Linked DNA regions of Homo sapiens: all the other regions are linked to region 1. The links are contacts of gene promoters, found by promoter capture Hi-C in human tissues and cell types (Jung and others, 2019). All regions are on one chromosome and are shown on one strand. Each heading gives the region's core, a stretch centred on a gene start or on the middle of the fragment in contact. The rest is flanking DNA. Distances are from core to core; before and after follow the strand shown.

What was found. Contacts are between HindIII fragments. The study calls those that stand out against the background at their distance.
Region 2: a fragment that was not itself captured here is called in contact with the fragment with the promoter of TPK1 in region 1 in 1 of the 25 tissues and cell types used here (dorsolateral prefrontal cortex).
Region 3: a contact is called between a fragment that was not itself captured here and the fragment with the promoter of TPK1 in region 1, in 1 of the 25 tissues and cell types used here (dorsolateral prefrontal cortex).

Annotation. Positions count from the first base shown.
Region 1 is chr7:144,834,803-144,839,049 of GRCh38, forward strand. TPK1 (thiamin pyrophosphokinase 1) reads right to left here and starts at 1,251. Exons shown (of 9, transcript NM_022445.4): 1 at 1,165-1,251; 2 at 758-816. The coding sequence starts at 800. RefSeq lists a silencer at 992-1,091 and an enhancer at 1,392-1,461. The HindIII fragment of the contact is 4,228 bases long and covers 869-4,247 here.
Region 2 is chr7:146,127,909-146,132,155 of GRCh38, forward strand. All of the region lies in intron 1 of CNTNAP2 (contactin associated protein 2), which reads left to right. Among named protein-coding and RNA genes, the nearest start is that of CNTNAP2, 13 kb to the left of the region's middle. The HindIII fragment of the contact is 4,906 bases long and covers 1-4,149 here.
Region 3 is chr7:146,108,296-146,112,542 of GRCh38, forward strand. No RefSeq gene overlaps it. Among named protein-coding and RNA genes, the nearest start is that of CNTNAP2, 6.4 kb to the right of the region's middle. The HindIII fragment of the contact is 3,572 bases long and covers 76-3,647 here.

The DNA.
Region 1 (4,247 bases), core at 1-2,500:
GCCAGCCCATTCACCAGATGAGGCAAAAACCCAAGATAAATATCTGAGCAAGTCACGTAGACTGGGGCCCCCGAGCCCCAATACCAAGCGCCCCTTTATAAGCTCTTACATTTTGTCCAAATTTGAAATGGTTTCGTTAAGGCAGAAGCTTGGACTACTTCCCCATTGCTAGCTTTGGAAAGTAGTCACTTTCCTTTCCGGGCCCTTCGTCCTTGTTGATTGGCTCTGCAAGCAGCGAGCAGCCCAGCCTGAACTCGGTTACACAGTAATTTCAAATCTTAGAAGAATAAAATATCCTGAGTGTTATATAGATTTAAAACACTTGATATAATCATTTGCCAATCTTTTATTAGATAAGCTCGGGGCACTTTCAATGGATTAAAAATGCATCACGGTCAGGCAACGATGACCGTCCTTAATGCCTGCAATGTCTAATGTTCCGCTATGTTCCAGATTTGTTCGCGCTGTTGGTGGAGGCGCAACAGCCGGGAAGCGCTTACTGGGCTCCACACGGACTACACACACTGTATCTTGTCATTTCGTCCTCACAGCAAGGACTGATACGTAAGCTCATTTTTCAGATGAGGAAAATGAGACCGGCGAGAGGCTGATATGCTTAGCGGTACAGAGCTAGGAAATCAGGGACAGAACCCAGGCTGGAAGTCACGCTGGCTCTAGAGCCCCGTCCTTTCGACCTGTTCCCGTCGCTGGGGAGGGGCACGTCAGTGACACTAAACCGTGGAAAGAAATACAGTACCAGTGGAAAGCAGGGGCTCCAACGGGGTAAAGGCATGCTCCATAACGGATTATTGGCCTCTGCATTAAAAAAAAAAAAGTGAAGTTAGACTCTCAGTTTTAATTAAACATCGCGCAGAACCAACAGCACGGGAGCCGCCTGAACCTGGCACTCGGCAGCGGCGCGCTCCGGGACCCAGGAGCCAGCTGAGCTGCGGCGCAGCACCCGGCGCTGGGGACCCGCCACGGCTCGCCTACAGCACCGCCGCGGGCGGGGGCCCCCGGAGACCGGCCGCGCGGGCCGCTATGAGGTCCGAGGGGTTGCCCCTGCCGCCTCTCTCCGCGAACCCATCACCATCCGGGAACCTGGGGAGCGAGAGGCGGCCGCCCCCTTCCGCGGCCCGCGCGCCCGGCAGCAGTCGCACTTACACAATGGCTGGTAGGAGCCACAGACTGGAGATCGCAGGCTGCGGGAGCTACGGCGATCGACCGCTCGGCGCTCGGCTGAGGAGCCTTGGCGCGCGGTCCTCGCTCGCAGGTTTTAGCCCCCGGGACGCGAGGTGGCCCCGCCCGCTTCCGGGAGCCGGAGGCAAGTGGGAGCCGCGCCCTGTGCTCTGCGTCCGGCACTACCCACCTCAAGTCTCCAAGGCTTCGTTTTCTGGGCTGGTTCTGCTAGCTGTAGTACTGCTGCCGGGCCCTCTGCACTCAGCTTTAACAAGGAGGCCATTTGCTTCAAACTAAGTGGCGAATTCCCTATCACCCATGCTTGACCTAGCTTCCAAGCCAAACTTACTTTCCACTGTGCTGCTTCTAGTCCTGCTACCGGTGTCCTCCCTGAGCCGTCGGGTTAAAAGCTTTCCTTCCTGGCCGGGTGCGGTGACTCACGCCTGTAATCCCAGCAGTTTGGGAGGCCGAGGCGGACGGATCATGAGGTCAGAAGTTCGAGACCAGCCTGGCCAGCATGGTGAAACCTCGTCTCTACTAAAAATACAAAAAATTAGCCGGGCATGGTGGCGCGCGCCTGTAGGCCCAGCTACTCGGGAGGCCGAGGCAGGAGAATCGCTTGAACCCGGGAGGCCGGAGGTTGCAGTGAGCCAAGATCACACCAGTGCACTCCAGTCTGGGCGACAAAGCGAGACTCCATCTCAAAGAAAAAAAAAAAGCTTTCTTTAGGGAACACTCCGTTAAGAGCTTTCCTTACTTTGCTTTGTGGAAACAGAATGTTTTTGTTGGAAGAAACTTTAAGCCACCTATCTGCAGCTGCAGAGCGTCACTGTTGCAATACAGGCTTTTCCAATAGTGAGCGAACCTAATCTCCCTCTACCCTCTTAAGGTTTCCACCTGGGCCTAAGAGGTTAAATTGACTTAAGACAGTTTAACAGGGGAAAAGCTTACAGCTATGTGCATGGGAGTCCACAAGAAAAGACCCAAAGAAGGAGGAAGCCTAAATGCTTATATACGGGTTTAGCTACAACAAATTTCAAAAGTCCATGTTTAAATATGACCTTAATGAACCTAAAAGACAATTGGGGTACAAGGAAACTATCTGCACATGTAATAGACAAGTGGTTGCCATGTGTTTATCCTATGAAGAGCTGTTACCAGTTGATGTGTCCAGGTTCTTGGCGTCTTGAACAAAGAATTGGACAAAACGCACAAAGCAAGGAAAGAATGAAGCAAAAACAGAGATTTATTGAAGATGAAAGTACACCCCATAGGTTGGGAGCGCCCGAGGATAGGGGCTCAAGAGTGCCGTTAGAGAATGTTCTGGGGTTTAAATGCCAGCTAGAGGTTTCCATTGGTTACTTGGCTTATGCCCTATGTAAATGAAGAGGATGAAGTAAATTTTAAAGTCATTTACTGGATATAAGCCCTGTGTAAATGGAGAGGATGTTTCCTGTCATTGCTGAAGTACTGCAATTTGATTTAGTTCCAGGAAGTCAGCATGAATCGGCCTTAACATTCCCTGCCTCCAGACCCTATTCTGCCTCAGAACTACATGTCCATTAGTAAAAGGCAAACCAGAAAAATTATGACCAAGGATATAAACAGGCAAGGCAAATTATAGAAGGTAGTCAAATGGCAAAAACACATCACCAATATTCAGAACGAAATCTTGAACAATGAATTCAATGGCAGATTGTAACCAATTTTTTAAGCAGTAATAAAAATTTACACTTACTGATCAATTATTATGTTCCAGTCAGTGTTGAGGTCTTTTATATTTTATTTAATTACCCTAAAATGTAGGCTCCAGGAAAACAAGGACCAAAATTTAGTTGTTGGCCCTTGAATCCTCACTCTAGCACAGTTTACTTGTTAATGATTTGTCTCCCCCTACTAGAGAGCTAGCTCTCTAAGGGCAGGAGCCTTGTCTATTTCCTTCCCTGCTATTTCTCCAGCCACACAGTGTGTCTCACCAAGATAAGTTCAGTAAATGTGAAATAAATTAACAAATAATGGGAAAAAAATGGAGAATTATGGTACTTCATACCAGGAATTACAGGCATACCTCCTTTTATTGTGTTTAGCTTTATTGTGCTTTACAGATACCGCTTTTACAAATTGAAAGTTTGTGGCAAGCCTGCATCAAGCAGGTCTATCTGCAACATTTTTCCGAAAGCGTGTACCTGCTTCGTGTCTCTGCGTCATATTTTGGTAATTTTCACAATACTTCAAATATTTCCATTAATATATTCATTACAATCTGTGATTAGTGATTCTTAATGTTACTCTTGTCATTGTTTTGGGGTGCCACCAGCCATGCCCTTATAAGACGGCAAACTTAATAGATCAATGTTGTGTGTTTCTTACTGCCCCGGGACCAGTACATTCTCCTGTTTCTCTCTCCCCGTGGGCCTCCCTATTCCCTAAGACACGACAGTATTGAAATTAGGCCATTTTATATTCCTACAATGGCCTCTAAGTGTTTAAGTGAAAGGAAGAACTGCATGTGTCTCACTTTAAATCAAAAGCTAGAAATGATCAAGATTAGTGAGAAAGTTTTGTCAAAAGAAAGCTAGGCTTTTTGTATCAGTTAGCCAAGTTGTGAATGCAAAGCAAAAGTTCTTTAAGAAAACTGAAAGTGCTACTCCACTAAACACATGAATGATAAGAAAGATAAACAGCCTTATTGCTATGAAGAAAGTTTGAGTGGTCCGTGTAGAAGATCCAGTTAGCCACAACATTTCCTTGAACCAAAGCCAGATCCAGAGCAAGGCCCTGATTCTGAATTATCTTAAAGTCTGGGAGAAATGAGTAAACTGCAGAAGAAAAGTTTGAAGATAGCAGAGGTTCATGTGGTTTAAGGAAAGAAGCCATCTCCGTAACATAAAAGAGCAAGGTGAAGTTGCAAGTACTGATGAAGAAGCTGTAGCAAGTTGACCAGAAAATCTAGCTAAGATCATTGATGAAGGTGGCCATTTTTCATGGAGATGAAACAACCTTCTATTGGAAGAAGATGACATCTAAGACTTTGATAGCTAGAGAGGAAAAGTCAATACTTGGCTTCA
Region 2 (4,247 bases), core at 447-2,946, 1.3 Mb after region 1:
CATTTCCACTTTTAATATGACAAAAATATAATTTTATAAGTATAAAAATAGTTACTTCTATTCTATTTGTTTATATTTTAAACTCCGTCTTCATCCTTACCTTTGCAACTTAGTACACACTTCTGAACCATTTCAAAGTTGGCCAGTCTAGCGAAGCCTGTTTCAAATTTTATATTCTTCACAATGATCCCTGCAGTGATGCCTACTAAAAACACATTACTCTCTTTTCTATTAGTCCACAATCTGCATGAGCAGAGCCTGTATTTTTTCCCTTAGGCTGATAGGTATTAGGGAATGGTTGTATTAAAGGAACTAGACTTTAGTAAACATGTTTCATCATATTAGGTACTGTACTGGTTGCATTATACCATTACATGAAATTAGCCCAAATACCTCTGTGCTGTAATATTCAAAGTATAAGGATGCTCAAGCATTTTAAAGCTCACTGGTTCCATCTTTATACAGTTCTTACTTTTGTCAAGTCCTTCCTTGCATTGATACAGATTTACACTCCCATAAATTCCAGCCAGTAGTTCTAGTTGGGCTTCTCAAATAAAAGCTTAATATTTACCCAATATTCTACTGCCGTAAAATACTTGAAGACAAATATAGAATCTAATTAAATATAATTTAAGACTTAGTCGCTACTACTTTTATAGATAGCCAACTAATACCTTGAAGACAAACACATTCCTTAAAACACTGTGATTTATATTTACTTATGTCCTCCAAATTACCCAAATATTTCTAGGTACACAACCAGTGTTAAATAAATACAATTGAAAATGGAATTGAAATGGGTTAGCTCTGTATACAAATTGTTTCTTAAAGTGCTTATAGCTAGGTTATAGCAACAAATATACATTGTTGTGTTTTGATAGCTAAAAGCATCATACTAAGAAGTATTATAATTGTAATATAATGTTAGTTGCAAACAAGTGTGTCTGTAAGTAATCTTGGTATTACAGAAAAAAAAACTGCCTTAAAACTTACATATCTGTATGAGTCAAAACCAAAAATGAAACAGAAATATTTAAAGGGACTGTTGTTTAAAAGTAATAGGACAACTACAGTTATTTTAAAAGATAGTTTATACTTATTTGCTCAGTGTGAAATAAAACATTTTTAAATTTTAATTTATTATCTACTCTTTGCCCAAAGTATATTAGAAAAATGTTACTGCAATTTGAGTAGTCTTCATATTGTGATAAAATAGGTAATTATTATATGCAATAATCTGAGGCATTTTCGTTTTACAGAGCATATAATCACCCACGTATCAATTTTTGGAATTTAAAATGTGTTGTTGGCACAATTAGAATCATGTATCTACTTTCAAAGAGAGATTTCAGAATATTGCAAATAAAAATGACATTGTTTCTTTTATCAAATTGGCATCAATAGGGCCTTTTTTTCAAAAAAAGCTTTTAGATCTGCTATTTGTTCATTTATATGTGTATAATTACAGTATTCAGAGGATCTCTCATGCTGTGTTTGTTTCCACATATGGATTTTCAAATGACAAAGTCTCAAGTGGTGGCGCTAAAGACAAACCATGCTAGCTACTCAAGCATTTCCTTCCTGGAGTTGTACTGTGTCAACTGCTCCCTAAGAAATGGGTAAAGAGGGACTACTCAGAAACATGCATTGAGCATCAGCATGTTTTTGAAAGATTAATCTTCTAGACCTGGAACTAAAAGTATCTTCCAGTTATTTTCTTTATTATCCACTTTATCAGCTTCCACATAACACATTCAGTTTTCTACATTTTAGTTTAAAAATTGCCATTTAATTCTATGCTTCTATGAAGTCACATATCCTACTTATGCTTTCTTAATTTCAAAATTATTTGCACTGTCCATTTTATAATATTTTATCTATCTTAATAATTTACCTTAAAGTTCTCTTTTATTGAATAGGTATGACAACATAGAAATTAAAATTATTGAATCATTCCAATTAGTCCACAGGTAAGGTCATCAGTGAGTGATTAAGGAAACTCTTTCTGTTATAACATTTTAGCTAAAACCTAAAGAAAAAGCCAAGCAAACAGCAGGAAAAGACTGTTCCAAGAAAAAGAGGACAACCTCACAATTCCAACATTGGCCAAGTTTGGAAGTCACTTTGATGAGGAGATATTTAGTGGTTTTGGAATTAGTCTTCTGTTAAACGTGTAATGAAAAGAAAATTTTGAAAGAGTAAATTATCCCGCTTAATTGTCTATCAGCAAATAGAAAAGAAATTTTCACTGGTTAGAAATATAGGCAGTCGGGCCGGGCGTGGTGGCTCATGCGTATTATCCCAGCACTTTGGGAGGCCGAGGCAAGAGGATTGCTTGAGGCCAGAAGTTTGAGACCAGCCTGAACAACATAGCAAGACTTTCTCTCTACAAAGAAATATTTAAAAACTAGCCAAGTGTGGTGGTGTGTGTCTGTACTGTAGTCCTAGCTACTGGAGAGGCTGAGGTGGAAGGATTGCGTGAGCCCCGGAGTTCAAAGCTACAGTGAATAATGATTGCACCACTGCATTTCAGCCAGCTGAGACAAGAGTGAGACTCTGCCTCTTAATAATTTTTTTAAAAAGAATTTAGGTCAGTATTAAAGTTTGTGATAATTCAATTATATTTAGCTTAGAGAATTTTGCTAATAAAAATAACTTTGATAATTTAACACATATGTATGTTATTGAAACAGCAAGCATTTTGAAGAGGCAATTTTCTAAATAACCTTTATTTCAAAGTGTATTGTTTATTGCTGTGTTAGTTTGTTTTCACACTGCTATAAAGGAATACCAGAGACTGGGTAATTGATAAAGGGAAGAGGTGTAATTGACTCACAGTTCTGCATGGCTGGGGAGGCCTCAGACAACTTACAATCATGGCAGAAGGCAAAGGGGAAGCAAAGGCACGTCTTACATGGTGGCAGATGAGAGAGAAGAGCATGAAGCGGGAGGATCCCCACACTTAGGAAACAACCAGATCTTGTGAGAATTCACTCACTATCATTTGAACAGCATAGGGGAACCATCCCTATGATCCAGTCACCCCCAACCAGGTTTCACCCTTGGCACTTGGGGATTAAGAGGGTTACAATTCAAGATGAGATTTGGGTGGGTTCACAGAGCCAAACCATATCAATCGCTGACTTTAAAGAAAACGAATAATATTGTTTCCAATCTTTACATAGTTTCACATAACATTTTTGAGAGTATAACTGTAACCCAACATTTACAATATATTTGTAGTTATTTTTTAATGTGAATAAAGGTAATATGACTCATATTCTTAAGAATTTCCCCTTGGCATTACTATGTTCTACTGTTTCAAAAGTTTGCTTACTTTAATAAGATTTCAATTATTTGGATTGTTAATACATTGAGATAGCGACTGAGGTTTATTCTCTCATTTAACTTATTTTTCATCCTATAAATGTAAGGTGTACAATATAATATTTTGATATACAGAGTAAACTGATTACTAAAATCAGAACACTAATATATTCATTATCTCACATAGTTTTTATTAGAGAGGTATGCATTTATAAGCTGCCAACAAGTCCAAGGATTGTTTTAAAATGTATCTTTCATTCTTATTACATTTGTGACTTCCTGGGTTCCATGCCAATTGTTTGTTTTTAAGAAATGTAGTGTTATAACAAGATTGTTTCAGAACTTCAATAATATGCACCTTCAAATAGAATATTATAGGTCTTGCTTTATAATTTGTAAACTTTCAGCATCTTTGCGGCTTAACTTTGCAACATACTTCAAAGACTTAGGCTTCATCTAATTTGACATAAAATAAACAATAACCAGCAAGTACTAGATGATTATGCATCTGATATGGTTTGGCTCTGTGTCCCCAAACAAATCTTATCTTGAATTGTAATTTCCACGTGTCGAGGGAGGGAGGTAATTGGATTATGAGCGCGGTTTCCCCCATGCTGTTCTCGTGATAGTGAGTGAGTCTCAATCTGATGGTGTTAAAAGTGGCAGTTGTTTCCTGTGCTCGAATTTACTCTCTCCTGCCACCTTGTGAAGAAGGTGTCTGCTTTCCTTTCTGCCGTGATTGTAAGTTTCCTTAGGACTCCCCAGTTATGTGGAACAGTGAGTCAATTAAACTTTCTTTGTTTATAAATTACCCAATCTCAGGTAGATTCTTTATAGCATTGCGAGAATGGACTAATACAGAATCTGTAATAAACTCATGCAGTATCTGTATCTCAGATTGTATCTGAGATTACAGTCTC
Region 3 (4,247 bases), core at 612-3,111, 1.3 Mb after region 1:
TTCAATAGACTAAGTTATCATTAATTATTATATTATCACATAAGCTACCGTGATGATCATTCAATTGTAATAACACAGTTATTTGGATCTTAGCAGAATTACTATAATAGGGGAACCTTAAAATTTATATATTCAAGTGAAAAAACATATTTGAAAAGAAGAATTAAACATGTTTGTACTAAAGCATTTAGTTAGTCATTTCTGAAATGTATTTTATAATCATCACATAGTTCAAACTGAAGTAAAATTTATTATTTGTTCTAGGTATTTGATATAAAAGACAACTTTAGTTTCCATAATTGCCTTCAGCTCTGCAAAAGTAAAAGAGGGCTTCATGTTTCCTATTGTTTGATGGGAGGGTGCATTCTTACATGAAATTAGGTTCAGTAAGAACTATGGAAGCAAGCTGTAAATGTTTTGGCAGTAACTATGCAAACTAGCTTAAACATTTAGGCAGTAATTATCATCTCAAATTTTGGTGCACTATATAGCTCCACTATTGCAAATTGAGGACATAGTAAATAAATTTGTAGAGAGATTTAAATCAATTCATCTTTCCAGATGAAAAAAAATTTAGTAATCTTTAGTTTCAAGTCAGTAATGTCAACTCCTACCATGTGAACAATAAATGATCATTTGTTCTTTTGATTGTTTACTTTGTTCTTTAAATGTCCAGATTCTCCAGAATAATATGCCCTGTTTGCTATATTATTTTATCTGGTCTATCTGACTGCTGACTTCAATCTAATCACTGGATTGGGTTTTGGATGCTACCTAATGTCATTCAACTTTGTCAGTAGATCTAGCATTTTCAAAAACTAATAAGAGGAAAATGGAATATGAAATTCCAAGAAATACTCCAGGAAAATATTGAGGATCTCAGATGTTTGGACATTCAACAAGCAGACATCATATTGTATGGAATGTAAAGAGGTAACAACTTGGAAATTGCTGTAGTCTGAATGTGTACCCTCAGACGTCATATCTTGAAATCCTAAGCCTCAAGTTAATAGCATTAGAAGATGAGGTGTTTGGCGGTTGGGTCCATTATGAGGACAGAACACATGTGAAAGGGATTAGTGTCCTTATGAAAGTGGCCTGGGAGAATTTTTATTCTTCTATCAAGGGAGGACACAGCTAGAAGGTACCATTTATGAGAGAGAAACCCTCACCAGACACCACATCTGCAAGCACATTATCTTGAACTTCTCAGCCTCCAAAACCGAAAAATAAATGCGTGTTGTTTATAAGCCACCCATTTTATGGTTTATTTTCTAAGAAACCATCTCCTAAAATTGAGTTAAGTGTTTATAATTTATTTGCTAGATGGTGTGTTTTCTTAACCTTTATTTGTTGTAAATGCTGCTACTAAAAGTTGATTTTTGGCTTTCGCATGAACCCCATTATAACTATGTACTCTCCAATTTGCTACATGTCTAGAAGAACACTAACAATAAAGAAAATGGGACCTGCCAGCATCATCCTAGACTCTACATCTCAGAAATGAGCTTATTCTTTTCTAGACAGAGCATATAGCACTAGCCCTAATATTCAATATGGCTGGAGTGCACCATTTTTCTTTACTGACACTAAAAGCTTCTTAGTGCAAGGGTTTTCTCTCCTTAAGTCAACTGAAGATACTATAGTTGATCTTGGTCCAGAAATATATCCTTGGGGATGAGGCAGAATGATAAACTTTTATCAACCCAGGAAAAAGACAAAGTCTGTAAATTCTTCTAGATGATCTTACTTCTTCCAAATATCCTTTGTCTGACACCACACTAATTCCATTTTCCTTTTTATTCCACTGAGTTGCTAAATTTTGTCAAGAATGTGACAATTTAGGCAAGCTTGTTTGTCAAATGTTTAAATCCATCTTTTGCCCCAAATAAAACAACTCTGCATCCTTCCCATGGCTATCTACACAATATTCATTATCATCAGTCTCACCCTATTTTGAAAGTTTAAGGATTTTATGGGTTTTCTTAGAAACCAAATGAAGTACCATACATGAGAATGTGTGTCGACATTAAGTAGATTTGGAGCATTCCATAATATTCCTCTAGTTCCACTTAGACCAAAGATGATAGTCTGTATCAGCTACTGCCTTTTTTTCTTCCTGTAGTCCTCACAAATCATTTTTAATTTTATTTACATTTGTTCTTTACATACAAGCTCATCTCCTCTTAAGTACCTGAACAAAGTATCACAATACCTCTCCTCCATTATTTAGAACCAGATAATATCCCAGGGCTGGAATTCAGTGGTCATGACTATTGTTTTCATTTGCTATTTCAATATGCACCTCTGTATTCACTTACTACCAAAAAGATTTCACAGGCCCCATTCCAAGAGGAAGTCACAGACATAGACATAACCCTCCAGTTCAAGTCATTTCTATCTTTAAGCCAAATCAAAGAAATTGTATTTGGAATGAAGGCTGTTGCCTAATTCTTCATAGAATTTTATCCATCTCCTCTTCTATGCTCTCACTCACCCTCGTTCCCCTGAGATGAAATCATATTAACTCTTGATGTTTATTAACCCAAATATTTTCCGTGGACTTACTGATCTCCTTTTTGGGAGTAAATTCTACCCAATTCCCTGTGGTCTAAAATGTATAATCATGACATCAGTAGAAGGATAAAAGTTTAAATAACCTGTCTGACAAGAAAAGTCCACATAAAACTTCACACAATCTGCTGTTAAAGTAGTAATAGCATACATCTCTAAATTCAGACTAAGATACTTTCCACAGCCTAGCTACTCATGTCACAAATTTCACACAAAAGTCAGCAAAATCTGCATTCGCCTATGTGATTTAGACACATTACTCAATTCTATCAAATCAAATGACCTGAGTTATAAAATCTAAAGGTCTTTAAGCCCTTGCCCATAAGACTGTGCTTCATAAATGTACTCAACAGCCTTCCTATTATAGTTTAGTATTTTGCATTAAAACAAACCTTTGATGATAAATTGCAAACTGTGAGCTGGTTATACTGTAACAAGTCCTACTTCCTGCTGCAGGCAGTCTACTTTGGGTAGCCATACTGATTAGACCAACTACCCTCCAACTTAATCCTGGATTTTTTCAGGAAACAATCCACTCATAAACTTGAATATTTCAGCAGCAACCACTTCTGGAACTGCAATTCTGAGAGCCTGACTGCCTCTCTGTAACCAGCCTGTAACGCTGAAAGGCCTTTTTCTCCCCTCTCCTTCATCTCCTGAAACTACTGCTTTAGGAAATGGGTCCTCCTTGTTGCTTAGACAGTCTGTACATCTATAACATAAGGTCTAGTCTCAATGGAGTAGTAATACTTTAATGCTTAGAATAATTTTAAACAACTCTATTTTTCTCTCTTTTAATTGAAACAAAGATAATTTTCAAAATCTTAAGAAGTGATCTTTGTTGGAAAATATGTACTTCAGTTCACAAGCCCCACATCTTGCCTTATGTTTCTATAGACCTTACTTTCTCATAGTTCTTTCAAATTCCAAATATATTTCCAAAATTTTATTCCAATATGCATTTTATTTTTTCACACTGCTTTCACATTAATATATAAATTGATCTTAATGTTCAGACAATTTGACATAACTTCTCATTGATAAAAGATTTTTTCTAATCCAGAAAAAAATCTAAATGGTTTTTCAATATGAATTTATTGAGGGATAAACTTAAGATTCTAGAACTTCAGTTTAGAACTTTGAGGTATATTAATTTATCTGGATAATAATAATAGTACTGGTAGTTAATCTATAGAGAACACTTTCTGTGCCTGGTATAATATATAAATTATGTTTAATTCCCAAAATAATCAAGTTTTATGGGTATAAATACTACTCTGATCTTATAGGTGAGAAAATGAAAGCATCCAGTGTGCGGGTAAGGTCACACAAAGAGTTTGTAGGCCAATACACAAATCCCAGAGACCAGGCTCAATTTCCACTCTAACTTGCTTCCTGAATGACCATCTGGTTCTTCCTAATTTCTATGTGATTATGACACTCAAAAGAAATTCACTTAAAATCTGGGCAACAGAGCTGCGCTGTGACCCCCACCTCACCCCGCAGAACATGAAGAATGCAATAAATATTAAGGTCAAGTTTTATATTCTAAATTTACAAATTAGTTTAACTATTTTTCCTCCCAGTTTCTTATATTAATTGAAAGTATGTTTACCAGTGCATTAAGACCACCCTTTGCTGACTTTACCTTTCCTACTAACATTAAACAGCCA